Linked DNA regions of Homo sapiens: region 1 is linked to region 2. Evidence: promoter capture Hi-C in 16 types of primary human blood cells and fetal thymus (Javierre and others, 2016). All regions are on one chromosome and are shown on one strand. Each heading gives the region's core, a stretch centred on a gene start or on the middle of the fragment in contact. The rest is flanking DNA. Distances are from core to core; before and after follow the strand shown. Region 1 has its middle 18 kb from the start of POGZ. Region 2 holds the start of LINGO4 (leucine rich repeat and Ig domain containing 4).

Evidence for each region. Contacts are between HindIII fragments. The CHiCAGO score rates a contact against its expected background, and 5 or more counts as called.
Region 1: a fragment that was not itself captured here is called in contact with the fragment with the promoter of LINGO4 in region 2 in 2 of 17 cell types (erythroblasts and naive CD8 T cells); the score reaches 5.3 in erythroblasts.

Annotation. Positions count from the first base shown.
Region 1 is chr1:151,475,905-151,478,664 of GRCh38, reverse strand. No RefSeq gene overlaps it. Among named protein-coding and RNA genes, the nearest start is that of POGZ, 18 kb to the right of the region's middle. The HindIII fragment of the contact is 5,172 bases long and covers 1-2,760 here.
Region 2 is chr1:151,803,679-151,806,684 of GRCh38, reverse strand. It overlaps LINGO4 (leucine rich repeat and Ig domain containing 4), which reads left to right and starts at 1,266. Exons shown (of 2, transcript NM_001004432.4): 1 at 1,266-1,455. It overlaps RORC (RAR related orphan receptor C), which reads left to right. Exons shown (of 11, transcript NM_005060.4): 11 at 1-614. The HindIII fragment of the contact is 4,610 bases long and covers 1-3,006 here.

The sequences.
Region 1 (2,760 bases), core at 138-2,637, 330 kb after region 2:
GGAGTGCTGGCACCTGGCAGAGTTGTCTATGTCAGAGACAGAAACAGAAAGATGAGTACACAGAGGGTCATAAATCCACCTTCTCAGAACTAGAAGGAAACAGCCCATATGGCTAGATTGGCTGTTCTTTCAAGGAAGAGAACTGGTCCTCCAAAGGAAATGTGTTAAGTTAAGGAAACTGCCTGCTCTCAGCACTCCAAAAATTTATTTAATTAGGTATTTCATTTATTTATTGACCTCCACAAACACTGAATAATTAACTTGCCTCACTGCTCTACTGCCAGGAGGCAGAAATTTGCCTAAGAGAGGAAGGGCTGTGGCGAGAGCCTGGGTTCTTCTGACTTGTTTCAAATCACCACCACATGACCCTTTCTAAGTGACTGCACCATTTTCTCCCTATAAAATGTGAAGGGGATTGCTTTCCTCCTTCTGGGAAACTATATGCATTTTTCTAAAGAAGCTCTCCAACCTACAAAAAAAATTAACTGAAGACCATGCTGAAGTAAAAAGCATCTTAATTTAATCCTGATAAAAGGTCAAGTTTTTTGTTTGTTTGTTTGTTTGTTTGTTTGTTTGTTTGTTTTTGACAGAGTCTCACTCTGTCACTCAGGCTGGAGTGCAGTGGTGTGATCTTGGCTCACTGCAACCTCTGCCTCCCAGGTTCAAGTGATTCTCCTGCCTCAGCCTCCTCAGTAGCTGGGACTACAGGTGTGCACCACCACACCTGGCTAATTTTTGTATTTTTAGTGGAAACGGGTTTTCACCACGTTAGCCAGGCCAGTCTGGTCTTGAACTCCTGACCTCAAGTGATCCACCCACCTTGGCCTCCCAAAATGCTGGAATTATAGGTGTGACCCACCACACCTGGCCAAGCTCTTTTTATTATTTTTATTTTTATTTATGTATTTATTTATTTTGAAACGGAGTCTCGCTCTTGTCCCCCAGGCTGGAGTGCAATGGTGCAATCTCGGCTCACTGCAACCGCCACCTCCTGGGTTCAAGCGATTCTCCTGCCTCAGCCTCCTGAGTAGCTGGGATTACAGGCCCCTGCCACCACGCCTGGCTAATTTTTGTATTTTAAGTAGAGACAGGTTTTCACCATGTTGGCCAAGCTGGTCTCGAACTCCTGACCTCAGGTGATCCGCCCACCTCGGCCTCCCAAAGTGCTGGGATTACAGGCGTGAGCCACAGTGCCCAGTACTCTTTTGATTTTTAAATGAAGAGCTTGGAACTCAGAAGTAAATAATTAAAGAATGAATTTCTAAATCTATTTAAATTCTATATTAAAATAAACTAAAGCAGAAAGGAGAGAAAGTAAAGATGGAAGAAAAAAATGGAAAGCAAGTGAGAAGGAAGAAAGAAAAAAGAAATTCAGATGATAAGAGACTGATAGGTGATAAGAGGAAGGAGCTGGGGAGGAAAGTAAGAGGAAGAAAAAAGAGAGTGAAAGGAAGAAACGAGGAGAACTAAACTCAGTGAGCAGAACCTTTGGGCTGGGCGCTTTATGTACATCATCTCACACTTGTCCAATGTGTTCATCATATATTTAAGGTTTTAAACAGAGGAATGACATGATCTGATGGGCGTTTTTAAAAGCTCACTTTATCTGCAAACAGGGGCAGGGATAGATGCAGGTAGACAATTTCGGAAGCTGTTGTGCAAGTCTAGGAGAGAGATAATCTGGCTTAGATTAGAGTCGTGGCAGGCAGGATGCAGAGAAGCAGAGAGAATTATGAGATTTTAGGAGGAAAAACTGGAGGAACTAAGCCCCTTTTCTATGCTTTCATTGTATGATGAGTGTACTTTTCTCATCATAGCCTTTATTACATTTAATTAAAATTATCTAGTCTGGGTAACATGATGAAAACCTATCTCTATAAAAATTAGTTGGACATGGTGGTACCCACCTGTAGTCCCAGCTGCTGGGGTGGGGAGTTGGGGAGGTTAGCTGGGAGGATCGCTTGAGCCCAGGGGGTGGAGGCTGCACTGAGCCTCTGCACTCCGGCCTGGGAGAGTGAGAATTTGTCTCAAAAAAAAAAGAAAAATAGAAAAAGAAAAGAAATTATCTGTTTACCTGTTTACAAATTACACATCTGTATTTCTCTCTAGACATGGACTGCCCAGTATGGTAACCATTAATCACATGTAGTTTTTTAGTACCTGAAATGTGGCTAGTGCAATGTGAGATTTGCTGTAAGTAAATTCGAGAAACTTAATTCAAAACGAAGAATGTAAAATAATTTGTTAATAATTTCTAGTGGCTCATGCCTGTAATCCCTGCACTTCAGGAGACCAAGGCGGGTGGATCGCGTGAGCCCAGGAGTTGGAGACCAGCCTGGGCAACATGGGAAATCCTGTCTCTACAAAAAAATACAAAAAATTAGCTGGTGGCAAATGCCTGTGGTCTCAGCTACTCACGAGGCTGAGGTGGGAGGAGCATCTGAGCCCAGAAGGTTGAGGCTGCAATGAACCATGATTGTGTCACTGCACTCCAGCCTGGGTGACAGAGTGAGACCCTGTCCCCAAAAAAAAAAAAAAAACAAAAAAAAAAAACCAATAAAAGTATATTAATTACATATTAGGATAATATTTTAGATATATTTTTAGATATATTTGGTGAAATAAAATATATTAATATTAACATTAATTTTATCAGTTTCTTTTTAATTTTTTAATGTGGCTACTAGAAAATTGTAAATTATATATGTGGCTCTCATTACATTCCTATGGAATGGCACTGTTACAGACTATAAGAACTGA
Region 2 (3,006 bases), core at 17-2,516:
ATACAGACTCAACAGCAATCATGCAGTTCCAGAGACACATGAACCTGACACAATCTCTCTTATCCTTGAGGCCACAGCTTGGAGGAGCCTAGAGGCCTCAGGGGAAAGTCCCAATCCTGAGGGACCCTCCCAAACATTTCCATGGTGCTCCAGTCCACTGATCTTGGGTCTGGGGTGATCCAAATACCACCCCAGCTCCAGCTGTCTTCTACCACTAGAAGACCCAAGAGAAGCAGAAGTCGCTCGCACTGGTCAGTCGGAAGGCAAGATCAGATCCTGGAGGACTTTCCTGGCCTGCCCGCCAGCCCTGCTCTTGTTGTGGAGAAGGAAGCAGATGTGATCACATCACCCCGTCATTGGGCACCGCTGACTCCAGCATGGAGGACACCAGGGAGCAGGGCCTGGGCCTGTTTCCCCAGCTGTGATCTTGCCCAGAACCTCTCTTGGCTTCATAAACAGCTGTGAACCCTCCCCTGAGGGATTAACAGCAATGATGGGCAGTCGTGGAGTTGGGGGGGTTGGGGGTGGGATTGTGTCCTCTAAGGGGACGGGTTCATCTGAGTAAACATAAACCCCAACTTGTGCCATTCTTTATAAAATGATTTTAAAGGCAAGAAGTGTGTGTGTCAGAGGGTGGGGGAGATTCTTAAATTAGATTACCTGCATGCCTGCTCTCCAGTCTCATTCCTGGGTCAAGACTCAGGTTTCCAGCTCAGCAATCCATCAGCATTATACAGATCCAACCCACCCTCACCCGACCCCTGCAGTTTCTCCCCAGGTGGAGCAGTCCCTCAGTGAGGACTGTGAACGAATCTTCAGGAACCCCCACTGTAGGAGCCTCAAACTGAGCCCCACGGGAGATGCTCTAGACTGAGAACTTCCCATAAATGATACCCACGGGGAACGTTTAGATTTAGAGGTTGCACAGAATTGCTCCACATCTGGGAGACCAAAAGACAGTCCTCTGGAAGGTGGCTGGCCCAAGCTCCCCAGTGGGGGAATCAGGATGTCAGAGAGATCCTCTAGAACCTGCTGTTCTTGCTATTGCATGACCCCTCCCTGGCACCAGAGCCTCCCTCCTGGCTCCCTCCCCTGTCACTTGCCAGCCTGTAGTGGTGCTTGCTGCAGCCCTCCCTGGTTGCTTTATTTATTTATTTTGCACCAACAGGGTTGCTGCAGACTCATTCTTGCCTGGTTTAAAAAGAGAGAGAGAGAGAGAGGAAAAAAAAAAAGGAGAAATGCTTTCTGGCTCTTTTCTCCACCTCAGTCTTGGCAGCAGCGGCCGCAGCAGCAACAGCAGCAGCAGCAGCGGCAGGCAGCAGCCGGGCAGCCAGGCAGCGGGGGTTGAGGCACACAGGGAAGGTGCAGGGGCCTGAGGTGCAGCTCGAATGGGACAGGGCCCCCAGCGCTGGACAGATGCAGTGCCAAACTTGATGCCACCTTCCAGCTTCTCCGGTAAGTGCCCCCACTCTCTGTCCCAAAGATGCAGCCGCCCTTTTCCATAACATTCTCCGAGACAGGCCAGACTAGGGGCCAGACAGGCCCCTCAAGGCAAGAGGGTTTGGGCCCCCACACTGCTAACAATTAATCCTGGCCCCATGGGACTTTGAGGGGGAAACTCAAATATCCCAAGTACCCCTGGGTGGAAGGGCTCCAAGGAGACCTCCCTTCCATCTCCCCAGTGCTTCCCCTTCCTCTGGAAGGGTTTTTCTCCACAATCGGTGTGGATCTTCCAGAAATCTTTCCCCCAGGAACCCTCTCCCCACACAGTTCCCATTTGTCAGTCAGGTGTGCTTTAAAGAGGATACAGGATACCCAGGTTCAAAAGTGTCTCTGGACTGCCACATAAAGACAAGAAAAAGGCTCCCTACCCTTGAGGGGTGATGCCTTCAAGGGTCATGTCTTGGTGATGTCCCCACCCCACTGAAGGGACAAAAAAGTGGTTCTGACATCTCGCTTCCTGCAAAGTGGCCGGAAGCCGGTCCTGCAGCCATGGAGGTTGGCAAGGGAAATTTGTGATTAAATTAGCCACCTTAGAAATAAAATAGGTTGCTCCAGCTCCCTCAGCCCCTGGCCCAGCGGACTCAGGGGAAACTCACAGGAGCAGGAAGGAAGAAAGCTGGGTTACATGCTTCACTGCACTTTTGCTGAATGCAGAGCGAGGATGGGCAGGAACTGCAGCAGTAGTGATGAAGAGCTAGCTGTCAGGTGGACTTCCCAGAACAAGCCTAGGGAGAACAAGGGAGGCTGGGCCATCTTTCCCGGGAGAGCTCTGGGCATGCCACAGAGACCTGTTAGGTCAGTTTGGGGCGAGAAGAGTCTGCTCTGCAGTCTTTGCCCCACGTTATTCTTTTTCATCCCCAAGCCTCACACCAGTTTTCTGCATCCCTCTGCTCTTTTGGCCTCTTTCTTTAGTTTCCCAACTAGGACAATCCTCTCAAGTGGCTGTAGGATAGCCACTAGAATGATCCTTCTAGGAGGTGGAGAGTGGGAAGGAAAGGGGAAGAAATGACCATCTCTTAAACTGCCTCTCCTAAGTTCCACATGAGAAAAAACAGGGCATGTAGTAGAAAGCTGACCCTGTAGAGCCCAGAGAGCCTGAAGCCCACAAGCCCAAAGGTGATCAGGATTGCCGCTCAGCAGAGACTCAGACGCGCTGTATCCCAGAGAGCATCCATGGGCTTTTGCTCCTATCTCTGTAGCCATCCCTTGCCAATTCCAGTACTTCCTCTGCCTTGGGGTCCCTGTTGACATCTAACAGGATGAGTCAGGGGCCCTCATCACCTAGAGGGCCCCTTCTCCTCTGTCACCTCAGCCATTGTAGTCACCATCTTCCTGAGGGTTCCCGGAACCTGGTACCCAGAAACTGACTATAAGTCTACAGGCTCTGCACACTGTCTGTGCCCAGATACCTGCTGTGCCAGCCAACGGCTCCCTTCCTCCCCATCCTACAGCACTTGGTCAGATGCTGTCTCTCCTCACTTATCTATGCTCCCTGGTCCACAA